Linked DNA regions of Homo sapiens: region 1 is linked to region 2. Evidence: promoter capture Hi-C in 16 types of primary human blood cells and fetal thymus (Javierre and others, 2016). All regions are on one chromosome and are shown on one strand. The core of a region is centred on a gene start or on the middle of the fragment in contact, and the rest is flanking DNA. Distances in the headings are between cores, read along the strand shown.

What was found. The method cuts DNA at HindIII sites, captures the fragments that hold promoters and counts their contacts. A CHiCAGO score of 5 or more calls a contact.
Region 1: a contact is called between a fragment that was not itself captured here and the fragment with the promoter of MRPS6 in region 2, in 12 of 17 cell types (neutrophils, naive CD8 T cells, non-activated CD4 T cells and 9 more). The highest score is 12.5, in neutrophils.

What each region holds. Positions count from the first base shown.
Region 1 is chr21:34,342,467-34,349,353 of GRCh38, reverse strand. No RefSeq gene overlaps it. Among named protein-coding and RNA genes, the nearest start is that of KCNE2, 18 kb to the left of the region's middle. The HindIII fragment of the contact is 2,613 bases long and covers 3,379-5,991 here.
Region 2 is chr21:34,071,406-34,077,843 of GRCh38, reverse strand. It overlaps MRPS6 (mitochondrial ribosomal protein S6), which reads right to left and starts at 4,266. Exons shown (of 3, transcript NM_032476.4): 1 at 4,099-4,266. The coding sequence starts at 4,143. SLC5A3 (solute carrier family 5 member 3) reads right to left here and starts at 4,266. Exons shown (of 2, transcript NM_006933.7): 1 at 4,099-4,266. RefSeq lists silencers at 3,609-4,008, 4,299-4,818 and an enhancer at 3,405-4,355. The HindIII fragment of the contact is 10,607 bases long and covers 3,568-6,438 here.

The DNA.
Region 1 (6,887 bases), core at 3,436-5,935, 270 kb before region 2:
TTAGAGAGCCCAGGCTCCAGCAGCACTTTCAGATTCTCATGTGTCTCGACTGTTCAAGCAACCCTGCATTATCCACTCTCAGGAAATTACTGGTGGCAGCAAAGTTCAAGTGCAATCTGAACCTACAGCCCACAGCCAGCACTTTCAGGTTCACCCTGCCCATCAGTAACGTCAGCAGCCATTGCTACCAGCTCAGCTACTCCCATTTATTGAGCAACTCCTGAGTGCCAGGCAATGTGCAAGAAACCTTATTTATTTATTTATTTATTTATTTATTTATTTAAAGTAATAGCTTCTTGTAAAAAAAACTTATATTTTAGGTTTGGGGGTACACGTGCAGGGGTTGTTATATAGATAAACTTGTGTCATGGGGGTTTGTTGTAAAGATTATTTTGTCACCCAGGTACTAAGCCTAGTATCCAATAGTTGTCTTTCCTGCTCCCCTCCCTCCTCCCACCATCCACCCTCAAGTAGGCTCCCGTGTCTGTTGTTCCCCTCCTTGTGTCCATCGGTTCTCACCATTTAGCTTCCACTTATAAGTGAGAACACACGGTATCAGGTTTTTGGTCCCTGTGTTAGTTTGCTAAGGATAATGGCCTCCAGCTCCATCCATGTTCCTGCAAAGGACTTGATCTTGTTCTTTTCTGTGGCTGCGTAGTATTTCATGGTGTAAGAAACTTTATATACCATGGCTCTGGTTTTATGCCAACCCTGCAAGGTAGTTACAAAGAACCTCATCTGACAGCTGAGAAAAAAAGGCTACAAAAACTCATACTCTGAATGAAAAGTTTTGGACAAGAGGACCCAGGTTCTTTTGCACAACTCACAATTCAAAAATGCATAAAATATTGCTTTTGGTGATAGAAATGGCCTTTGCTGCCTTTTTTTTTTTTTTTTTTTTTTTTTTTTTTTTTTTTTGAGACAGGGTCTCACTCTATCACCCAGGCTGGAGTGTAGTGTTGCAGTCAGGGCTCACTGCAGCCTTGACCTCCTGGGCTCAACAGATCCTCCCACCTCAGCCTGGCACGCGCCACCACGCCTAATTTTTGTATTTTTTGTAGAGATGGGATGTCGCCATGTTGTCCAGGCTGGTCTCCAACTCCTGGGCTCAAGCGATCCTCCTGCCTCGGCCTCCCAAAGTGCTAGGATTACAGGCGTGAGCCACCGCGCCTGGCCTTCTGCCACTGGCTAAGCTTAAAATGCGCGATGTGTTTCTCTCTTCCTGGGTTCTGTACCTGAAATTTGGGTAGCTGCCGCCAGGTGGCGCCAAATCTGAGCTTTATTAATCCAAGGGACCAGCTACACTTTGCCAGAGCCCTCAACTGATCTGACATCACGGTGCATGCTTCCAGACTAACTATGACATTTCTAGCACAGTAAGCTCTTTATTAAAATAGCAGACATCCTTGCTTCCTTGAAAATCATTAACTATTAACATCTGCACGTCTTTCTAAAAAGGATACACTTTACAGCAACCGGTAAAGAAATACAACATCTAGGTATAACATTAAACTTTTCTTACTAAACATTATTTTAAACCGCTGCTTATTCTAACTTCACCTGTTCTGAACACAGATGCTCTTGGGAAATGGATGTGTTCAGACCCTTACAGCATTTGGAGTGATTAAAAGCCATGCATTTCTTTGCAGTTATCTGTGCAGATGAAGTTAAAATGTATCAGTAGCTTTGTTTAATGCCAGGTTTGTTCGAGAATGTTTTAAGAATGTAAGCCCTTTTGTTTTGATTGTCAATGCCCATTTTCTCATAACTCATTAATTTCCCTCTATTTCTTTCTACATGGGTAGATTATTTTCTTTTTCTTCATTCTCCCATAAAAGGAGAAAAATAACTGCTCATATATGCTTCATGTCCCAGTGACCTCTCATGGTTATTTTTCCTAGTTTGGATAGTTCCTACACAGGAGTTTTCTTCCTCGTTCTCTTTTCTTTGAATTTTAAGTAGGGTGGCCAATTTGCACTAGTTTGCCTGAGAACTTTTCCATCCTGTGTCCTGAGTATCCCATTAGTCCCAGGCAAAGCAGGATGGCTTGTGACCCTAGCTTTCGGTTAGAGCAAAAGTTAGCCTACACTGAATTTAAGATGCAGATTCAACTTCAACCACTGTAACAGGCTTCATTGTCAGTCACAGACCTATTTTTCATTCATTCCTTCAGCAAATCCACTCTGCCATCCCAAATCCATCTCAGTGACTCTTAACAAGTCCATCTTTCATTGCAGGTTTTTTGTTTGTTTGTTTGTCTGATTTTTAAGGTGTAGTCTCGCTCTGTCTCCCAGGCTAGAGTGCAGTGGCGCGATCTCGGCTCACTGCAACCTCCACCTCCTGGATTCAAGTGATTCTCTGTCTCAGCCTCCCGAGTAGCTGGAATTACAGGTGTGAACCACGACGCCCGGCTAATTTTCATATTTTTAATAAAGATGGGGTTTCAGCATGTTAGCCAGGCTGATGGCGAACTCCTGGCCTCAAGTGATCTGCCGGCCTTGGCCTCTCAAAGTTCTGGGATTACACGTGTGAGCCACCATGCCCGGCCTCGCTGCAGTTTTTTGACACCAATGATTTGTGTTAAACATCTTCTCAGGCCCACAGTGCTGAACACAGAATCTAATCTCAATAGATGCTTCATTAATGGTTATTAAATGAAAGGAAAAAGTGGGCACCCCTCTTTTCCTTGGGGCTACTGCTGCCCTCACTCCAGAGCCTTAAAAGCCTCTGCTGCAAGCTCAAGACAGCTCCTGGGGGAAGTAGGAGACCAGTGGAATGTCATGATGTTATGTGGGATCTCAGCTCAGATAGGGACAGCAGTGTCCAAGAGTTTTTAAAATCTACCTCAAACTTCAAAATTCCTTGTTACCCTTCTGGGAATAAAATCTCCCCAAATTTGTTTTCCATGAGGTTTATATTTATATCTATAGAAGCTAGCATTTAGGAGGGATTCATAATTCAGAAGGGTCTTAATTTTGAATCAGACCTCAAAATTGAAGCCGAGGAGGTAGCGGTGACTAGGGTGGGGGGAGAGGAATTTGCCTGAGAGATTGTCCTCTATTCCCAAATAAGTTCTGTCTCTCTTTCCCAGCCAGACTCTCTATAAAAGGGAAAACTGGACAACAGGCAGTGGGAAAGAGAGCACAGCCTGGCAACTTTCTGTGAAACACGTACACCACGCTGTTTACAAATTCCTGTAGCCAGCCCCGGAATCCAAATGTAGACAACTCTGTTTATGTAACGAAAATAGACACTCCTGCCATGTGATTAAGGTGGCTACTGGGAGTTGGGCCCCTGTTAGGAGACATTTGCTGCAGCTGGGGCCGGAGGGGAGGACGGGACATGGGATCCCCCGGGACCTGGGGCAGGTACGAAGCTTTTTAAAGATGAGTTTTCTGGTCCGGAAATCTCCCAGGATAGGCACATCTAAGATGCAGCGGGGGAGCTGACAGAAGTCACAGGCTGGCCCTTTCTTTGCCGCCCATCCCAGAGGATGGCATTCTTCATCAAAGGGGAGATAGTCCAGCAAGCCGCAGCGTCACCCCTCCCAGCAGGGGACAATAAGTGGTCCGAGCCGGCCAGCTCCTTTCTCAGCATGGGGTTTGGAATGAGGCCCCTTCCTGCCCCACCGGAAGACTTCCAGCATATGGTTCCCATCAGCCACCCACTGTCTGGGTCAGTAAGGAGGCTTGAATGTTCCAGGGTCAGGAGATGCACAGCCCAATAAAACATTCCCTCCGAACGCTGATCCTGAACCCACCATTCCCTTCACACCTCTGCACCCCCAGTCTTGTGACTCAGATGGCCTTCATCCAAGAGCCTCATCTTGGAGATGCAGCTCAAATGGCGTTTCCTGTCCAAATGTTCTCCAACCCCTTCCCATCCAGAAGAAGCCATTATTCCCTCCCCTGGGCATTGTGGTCACCCGTCTCTAGGTCAGTCCACTCCACTCATAGTCACCTCCAACCCTGGAGTCAGGGCTTAGGTTTCATGATCTTTCCACCAGCCTTCGCCCTGGTATAGTATTCACCACAGGCAACCCCACTGTTACATGGCTTATCTTTCTGAGTCATTGGAAGGTGATGTCCAGGGGCCAAGTATTCGGTCCAGAAGACAAGAGCAGGAGCTGTGGTGCAGTGGTCAAAACTGGGGACGCTCAAGTTATCCCATCGATTCCCTGCATCCCGAAGAAGGAGGCCAACATTCTTATCCTGGCTTCTGAGGCCAGGCATGGCTGCCTGGCACCCGCCCTAGCTCATGCTACGCTGGGCTTCTCCTAGCTGTCTGCACTCCAGGCCTCTTGGATTTCTCAGTTATTAGAATGATCCCTGTGCCTTGGGGACTTCTACCCTGTCTCCTCTCCTAAGCCTGCCTTCCTGCCCCTTCATTTCTACTTCCTGCTGCATCTACTCACTGTTCAGGTGTCCACTTAAACCCCCCTCCTTAGGGACAACTTCCTGGATAGCATCTCCCCCTCAGTTAGATGAAGCCCCTCCTTTTACGTTTGCACCACATGCCAGGGACTGCTCTGTGTGACTTGTATGCAGAGGACAGGGACAGGGTCTAATCCGGGGAACCCAGCCTCGGCTCTCTGTGCCCCACTATCAGCACTCAACCATTTGCTACTTTCCTGCTTGACTCCTAGAGGACAAGAACTCCATCTTTTCCTCCAGTCTTCCCAGGGCCTAGGAGTGAAAGAACTAATAAATAAACCAATGACTCGACCGAAGAGGCCCTAGAAGAACCCAGCAGGGAGAGCCTTGAGCAACCAGCATTGATGTCACCTTGAGGCAAGACCAAGCTGGAACTCAAAGGTGGCCCACTACAAAAGGGGCTTCCAGGGAACAAAGGGTGACTGTTCTCTCCCCAAACCAGCGGGATCTTGCAAGGCAATTGGGTCAGAGGAGAAAAGGCCACAGAAAAACCCCACAGTTTTAAGCTGAGTGCTGTTTTCTCTTATTCCTTGGAAAAAGTAGAAGTGTTTGTCACTGAGTTCCTCAGGGGCATGCGGGGGGCTGCACATGTAGCAGAGGGAAGGAAACTTCCTGACAGAATCTTCGATCTTAGGCAGACTCAAGGAGAAAGAGGCCCCACTGAAGTCACACTTGGATGCCAAGCTCACGGTGCAAGGGAGGGCACTGTGGCTGCCAGGCCTAGCCCAGCACACACAGAGGGCATTCACAGCGCTGTGGCCACAGCCGGCTCCCACCCGCCCGCCCTGCGCACCCCCGGTAGCAAACAGAACGCTCTGTCTCGGTTCCTGAGTCAAGCCTGCACAGAATTAACTGCAATAATTGGCAGGTGGGCCTCTGGCTTCTGGGTTTTAATTCACCAGGGGCCCATGAAAAAGAAAAACTGGATGTTTTGCAGCAACGGTATTTAGCTTGGGATCCGAGAAGTTTCAGCTTTCCATGTCAAGAAACGAGCTGTGTGGCTGCAGCTGCCCTCAGCCAGCAAGAGCTCCAGAACAGCCTTGGAGAAAGAGGCCCCCTCCTGCCAGTCATTGGTTCCTTCCCAGGGAAAGAGGAGGAAATTGCCCTTTTCTTTGACCTGCTGCCCCTCTTGGGAGCACAAGATAACGGAGAAGAAAGGAAGGAGTCTTTCTGGAAGGATTTATTTTTCTGGATGGAAGGGGGTGATCATCACCTCCAGAGACTATCCAGGCATGATTCCCTTGTAATCATTCCCATGAACACATGTGATAACGGGGATGCTTATCCCAACCCTTAGCTGAGCCACCGTTTTAACACGAGCTGCTGCCGAGGCTGCAGGAGTTAGCCACGGCCACTGCTGCTCCTGCTGTGTGCCCACTGCAGGCATTACTAATCAACAATGGTTATCTTTTCCCCTAAGCCTTAGAATCCTTCTCAACCCTGTGGTCCAGGAAGGCATAGCAAATCGATAGAAGCTGGCATGAGAGCTGAACAGGATTGGCCACTTCAATTTAGTAACTCACAAGAGGCCCAAGTTATAATATATCATCAGAAAGCTTCTGGCTGGGCGCAGGGACTTATGCCTGTAATCCCAGAACTTTGGGAGGCCAAGGCGGGAGGATCACTTGAGGCCAGGAGTTTGAGGCTTCAGTAAGCCATGTGCATCACTGTGCTCCAGCCTGGGTGAGAAAGTAACACCCCGTCTCTTAAAAAAAAAGTTCCTCAAAGATAAGAGTGAAGTGATGCTGCCCTACTTCAGGACTGTGGCTTTGATGCCAGTTACTGCCCAAAGCCGAATCTTCAGGATAGAGTTCAAATGGCGTTTCTACCCCCTCCCCATCTGGAAGCAGCCATTGCTCCCTCCTCTGGTCATTGTGGTCACCCATCTGGGTTCGTCCACTCCACTCACAGTCACCTCTGGCCCCGGAGTCAGGGCTTAGGTTTCTGATGATGACCACTGGACGGGATTTCACTGGAGACCCAGGCACGGTGGCCCAGGGCTGGGACAGCCACTGCCAGGGACTCATCCTTTCTGCTCACCCTAACCCGCCCTTGAAACTTGTCCTTCAATTGGACTTTTTGCCCCCAGTTGGCTACAGCAGGGACAGAGCCAGCCACCACCCCAAAGTCAGTTCTGAGAGGCAGCTGCCCCCTCTGCAGTGGCTTCCTGCCAATGCCTCCTCATCTCTCTGGCTCAGCAGGCTGAGTCTGGGATCTTTATTGTTGGAAGCTAATGGGAAGTGATGGCATGAGAGGACTGCAGCCTCCAGGGGTGGGAAATGGTGAAGAAGTGGCTTCCCTGGGGTCAGGCCCACATTCTCCACAGAGGAGAAGGGCCTACATTCAGGCGCCAGGTAACACCAGCTATTCCTTCATGGACGATGGTCCTTGCAACCTTAGGCGTCCTTCCAACGGGCTTCAGCAGGATGTCTCCTTCTAGACTCCCTTACCCAC
Region 2 (6,438 bases), core at 3,017-5,516:
ACTCTACCAGAAAACCAACTGTTTTCTACATTTTAGGAACTGATTATACTTTTCTATATTCAAATTAAACCAAGTCAGAACTCAAACTCAGATTACACAAAACTCCTTACCCTACCAAAGTACTATTTCAATGAGTTATCTAAATGTAAAATATAATCTGCGTTGAGTATTAAACATAAAAATTACTGTTTGTTTTAATAAGAACTTAAGATTTCCAAAATAGCTATCTTCTTTATTCCTATTAGAAAAACATATGAAGATATATATATATAAATGCTATCTTATTGTACATGCAATGGAATCATTTAGCAAGTGAATTAGTTATTAAGCCATTAACCTTTAATTCTTCATGTAAAAATTCCTGAACGCCAATGAGAAGATTTCAGGAAAAGTATTATCCCAGGGCTTTCATAATCTATGCCAACTGTGAACACCTTCTGGGAAAAGGGCACGAGACGTAATTAGCGTTCCTAAAGTAACCACAAAATACTTATGTATTGCACAGATTTCTTTCCTCAGATTTCTTCTTCCTGTATACCCAAGGCATAAAAAGTGTCTACAAAGTTTCATTTTTTTCCTAAGCTCCTCTACATTATACAGTATGCGGCTTTACCATTCATGTATTGGCACTTCAGTCTTTTACCTAACTGAAATACCAACCTTTAAAATCTAATTATCAAGTGAAACCAAAGGGCTTCAACCATTTTCCCACTCACAAGAGAGCTCACTCACCAAACACATGACCCCTTCTCCTCATCTACCTCAAAGTTCTCATTGCAGGGGGGGCAGGGTGGAGGTGGATATAGACCTCACCATCTCACAGGCAATCCATTTCTTTTTCCATTGTCAGAGGTCTTCCTCACACTGAAATGAGGCTACCTGGGACTGCAGCCTTGGTCTCTCCTTTGCGGCTATGTCCTTTCACATTACAGCCTTTGAATACTGTGTTTTCCAGAAGTGAATAAAACTCTCTTGATGCTATCTGATATGGGTGTAACAGGACTTTTAAAATCTTTTTATTCCAGAGACTCTTCTATAAATATGAACTAAGACTGGTCTAAACAACTGGTTTTTCAAATTGCTTGTCACCTTTAAAGGCCTAGTTTCACAACATCCATTACTTTACCGTCATATTTCAGAATTTAACCACACTTTTACCTACTTTTCACGCTAAAACAGAAAATAGAAATAACTTTTTTTATATACACACTTTTTTAAAAATCAAGCTATATGGTACTTGAAAATAAATTTCTTCTTAGAAACACTAGTTAACTACATTCCTAAATGCCCAAACTTGGAAGTACAAAAGTAGATACTCATAATCAACTTCTACTTGCAAACTGAGAAAAACATAGTATTGGAATTTCTGGGTGACTAATTGTACAACTGTATAGTTCAATATGACTGACTCTACATAATACACTCTGAAATCTTTCAATGGGCATTCCCGCAACTGACTTTGCTACAATCCAGATACTGTGACAGCCAACACAGGGCCTGTATTTTAAATTTTAAAACTTTGCAAGCTCAATTTAAAGGAGTCAAGCTAGGGTCAAAAAAAAAGTAATGAGGACAGGGAGGAGTTAATATTCTCCAAACAGACTAAGAATGCTCTCCAGGCTGAGTACTGCGGAGAAAAAACAGGAGAGCAGCTCTGGGAGTCCAAAGGCTGGAAAACTATAGTTTCTTAACTTCCATATCCGCTGTTAAAGTTGCCTAACACAGCATTTTCCTCAATTCCAAGATGCACAAATGATTTGGGGAGGAAAGGAAAATACATCATATTAAAGGGGTAAAGAGGTATACACTTAAGAATCTAAAAACGTGGAAGATACGCAACTTTGAACTGAGGAGCTTCAATACCCTTCTTGCAACAGAAGCACAAAGTGCCTCGGGTTAGAACTGTGGTTTCTCCAAGGCCTGCTACCGGTGTGCAAGCTCACAGTCGCATTTTTCATTTCATAAGCCTAGAGTTAACTTTTTAAATTCGTTTCCCCCCAAACATTCATCCTATTTTAGAATCCTATTTTCCTAAACTGAAAGCAAGCAAACTGGTCTAAAACCTGGAAGTCTTTGTGTTTGTGCCACATTTACAAGCTACAGATAGGTTTTTGAACAAATAACTGAGAAGCTATTGTTTAATATTACTTTATTTAGGTCAAGGATCTCCTCAACATAACTTCGCCATTGTACATAAGTCACCACTGTTACAACCTTCTATCTACTGCCATGGGGCCTCTTTCTCCAAGAGGCAGTTCACCTTTATTATCTACTTTCTAGGGCTTTTTTTCTTTTTTTTGCCCCCCTTCCCTCATGCGAAGATTTCAAGGAAGGTTATTTATTATTTTAACCAAATTACGCTCTGTTGATCTGAACTAGAGTGAAAAATGGGTGCTCCACATCCAAAGGCTATGTTATTACAGGACATAAAAAAAAATGGTAAAAGAAATACACTTAATACTTGCAGCCATGTTAACCAAGATACTTGGCAACTATGGCAAAAACAAAGGGGAGGGCAAGTCTTCATTTCAAAGGTTTCAAAGGGTTACAGAATGAGCAAATATTATTGCCTACAGGTTGCCTCTTTCAGTGTCACCTGCTACCTCCCCAAGACAAGGAAAGTAAACAAAAGGAATTTCAGTAACGAATTTCCCAGGTTCCACATTCCCTAAAACACGTAAGTTGAAGGGAGGGCTTAAACAACTTCCACCTAATTAAAAATCTTCCCTTTTAATAATGCTTTGTTTTCACTGCTCCTATCCTTTCGGAGTTACATATGCTGGTAAGCAAGGAGGAGGGCCAAAAGGGATATTCAAGAGGCTGAACAGATACTATCTTAACTTCTTCCAAATCCATGAAGAACAAGCTGGGGGACACAATGGCATGCCTGGCCAGGCTGTCTGGACCTCATAGAGAGGCACTGGCGTCCCTTCCCAGTTAACAATATGCAAAGCACACTTCCTAACAATCTCCCGACGCTCCGTGATTGTTAGTTTATCAATTGAGCTTAAGTTCAACCAAACTTGGTAATACTCCTCGCAATTGACCTGGAGCCTAATTTCAAACGTAAAAATGCGTCCACTCCTCTAGCGCTGTAGGAAGCTGTGCTTACAAAGTTCGGACGTGGTACAATGATTTTTGTTTTATTACACCTGGTGGAGAAAAAAAAACATAACACCAAACTACGTTACCGAATTCCGAATTCACGGGAGAATGGGGATTTCGGCGACGACTTGAGGAGTACATGACCCAGGACAGAGGACGAAGTGAGCTGCCTCCGGGCCGCGGGCCCCTGTCCTTGGCCACGCCGTCACCTGAAAGGGGCCGCTGGTTCGCTTAGCATCCCTCCAAACCTGAAATCCCCTACCTCAAGATCAATCAAAAGCAGGGGGAAGAAAGTGTCTTCTGGAGGCGCAAGAAAGGCCACAACTTGGATGAATGAAACTGGGCTAAGGGCACCCGGAGCGGGATTTTCGCTGAAGTCAGAAAAAGAAAAGTCAAAAGATTTTTTTTTAACATGAGAGCGATTGCAAGAGACTGGAATACAGACAACGGCACAAACAAGCTTTGGAGGAACGCTTTATTGGGCGCGGACGTTCCGGGCGGCCGGCGGGCGCTAGAGCGGAGGCGGTCGGCGGCAGCCGGCGGGCGGCGGAGCGGGACGGACCAGGCGGCGGCGGCGGGGCCGGCGACGAGGCAGCTTCACGACTGGCGGGGACGGGCCGGAGTCGGGCTGGGCGCCCGCGCGTGTCCTCCCGCGGACCTTCCACTGGACTCCCGCGGGCCGGCGCCGGGATCGGGGTCGGGGCCCGCTCGGTCCGCCCCGCCCCCCGCCCGGCGGGCCGCTTGCGAGGCACACCCTCCCGGACCGCGCACACGCGCAGGCACACCCCCGCCTCCCGCGCGCACGCGGCCGGGCCCGGCCGGCCCACGCGCGCCCCCTTCCCGCGGACGCCCGCCGCCCGCCCGCCGCCCCGGCCTCCTCCGAGGAGTGCAGGAAGGCCCGGGGTCCCGCGGCCAGGGCGCGCGGGGGACGGCGGCCTAGCGGCAGCGGGGGCGCCCGCGCGGGAAGACCGGCTCTGAGGGAAGGTCACTTACCCGCTGCATGGCTTTCAGGATTAAAGCCAGCTCGTAGCGGGGCATGCCTGGAGGATCGGCGAGTGCGGCTCGGAAGCCAGCCGGTTCCCGGGACGCGAAGGGGCGGGACGGCGGGGACAGTGGGGACCTAGAAACTGCTGCGCCGGACGGCTCCCAGGCGGCGAAAGCACGGTCCGAGAGCGCGAGCCCGGGCTTAAAGGCGCTGGCAGCTGCGCAGACGCCGCGCCACGCCCCCTCGGCGCGCCCCGCCCCGCCCGCGCGCCTTGCCGCCGCCCCGCCCCCTCTCCGCCCGCGGGCGGCCGCCACGCCCCCTCCGCAGCCCCGCACCCGCCGCACCGCCCCCGCCCCGACCCCAGCCCAGCCCGCCGGCCGCGGCTAGGGGCGGTGCTGCAGACGCGGCCCAGAGCGGCTCGCGGCGGCCGCACGCCCCCTCGCGACCCTGCCTGCCCCTACCCCGCCTCCTGCCATGCCTGCTACCTAGCTCTCGAACCGGCTGGAACTTTCCATGCCTTCCTTCTCCTCCCGGGCGGCGGGCGAGTGAGTGCCCGCCAGTGCGCGTGCGCTGCGGTGCGGTCTCGTCCGTGCGCGTGCCCCTCGCCCGCGACTCCCCGGAGCTAGGGACCTTCGCGGCGCAAGGCGGGGTCGCGGCCGGCCCGGGGGCTGTGCGGCCAACGGCTGCTCGCAGGGGTTCTGGAACATTCCCGCCCGGGGTCGGTAGGGGGGTGCAGCTCTCGCCCCCAGCCACAACTCTCAGGTCTGACGCGGCTGACCAGGCCCCCTACCCGGCGAGGAGCGCGCTGGCACAGGCCGTGGGCCGCGGCGCGCGGGCTCGGGTCTGACTCAGTCCCTTGGCACTGCGTGACCTTGGGCCTGCTGCCTGTGCCGAAAGTGGGGACCCGAGTGAGTTACTGCACGTTAACCTCCGAGGACGGTGCCTGGTACACACAGGCGCGATACGGGCATTTGTGGTGTGCCCCTGACCTGCCCCCACGTGTTTCAGCGGAGGGCAGGCGAACACCTTAACTCTATCTCATTTCTTTAAATGTTTCCTCCGCTTTCACTTAAAGGCTAGGCTGAGTGCCTGGGAGACCCTTTAGCAACTGTCTAAGGTGGGCAGGGGCATACGTTCTGCCCTTGCCATCCCTTTACACCCACATGGTTCTCCGCCCTCCAGCCAGGGGCTCTGCAAGTGCAGTTTTCTCCAGCGCCCTTCCTTAGAGGTTGAGTACCCTGCAGCTGAGGCCTCTGCCCCTTGTTTGCCCCATTAAAAGCTCTGTACGTGGAGTGTTTGTCAACTTAAAGTGCTTTAACGTTAATAGGTAAAGTTTAGTGAACACTTACTCTGCATCAGGCCCCATGCCAAGGCTGGTGGATGTGTCTCCTAAAATTCTCACAACAGCCCTGAGGTGACAAAGATTCTTTGCTTGGCCAAACTTTAGTCAGGCTTCTGAATCTCATGCTAGGCCCATCTGTGCACTTCCTTGTAAAATCCAGTTCTAGCACAGAACCCCCATCCCCTCATAGCAGATCAGGTTCCTCATCTTCCTCTATCCCCCAGTCATGTCTTTTCACCCTGGCCTGAGTTCTACAAGAATCCTTTAGATCGGTTGAGCCAGAATCCCTCTTCCCCCGATGGTTACTCTTAGTGATTTTACATGGCCATAAATTTCTACTTGCCGACGCTGCATTCAGAATTGGAGCCCACTCTCTCTCCCCGGGTTTCCCTGATCCCTGTACCCATCGCGTTGGTCCTGAATAAAGTCTTTCTTACCATGCTTTAGTAAGCATCACTGAGTAATTTTTTTAAACAGAGGCAAGCACTGTTAACCCCATATTAGGGATTAGGAAATGTAGGCACAAAAAGTTTTGTAACTAGTCCAAGGTCATACAGTAATAGAAACAAAGTACTTTTAGCCGCCCCTCTACCCTTCTGACCTCCGGTTCTCCTACCACACAGATGAAGATGCTGATTGTTATTCAGTGGATTAACCGTGTAGTCCACGTAAGCCAAGATTAGAGTACCTTTGTCACCTTACCCAGAGGTTACCATTTCACATCCCATGCGTCTATTTGTGACATATGGGAGGTAGGAGATGGAGATGAACCCAAGTTTTTCTGAGATAGCTGGATTTTAACATTTTCTATTTTTAGACTTGTCTACAACCCATACCTGTGTGAAGCCACACAGGTAATCCAAATTGCCTGGCTAAGTGTCAATTAACTTCATGTTTGGTTTAAATAAGTAGCGTACTATAAATAACAGAAGGAAACAAGGAATTTCTGGACCTTCAGAAGTGAGTTACAGGCTGGGTGCAGTGGCCCACGCCCGTAATCCCAATA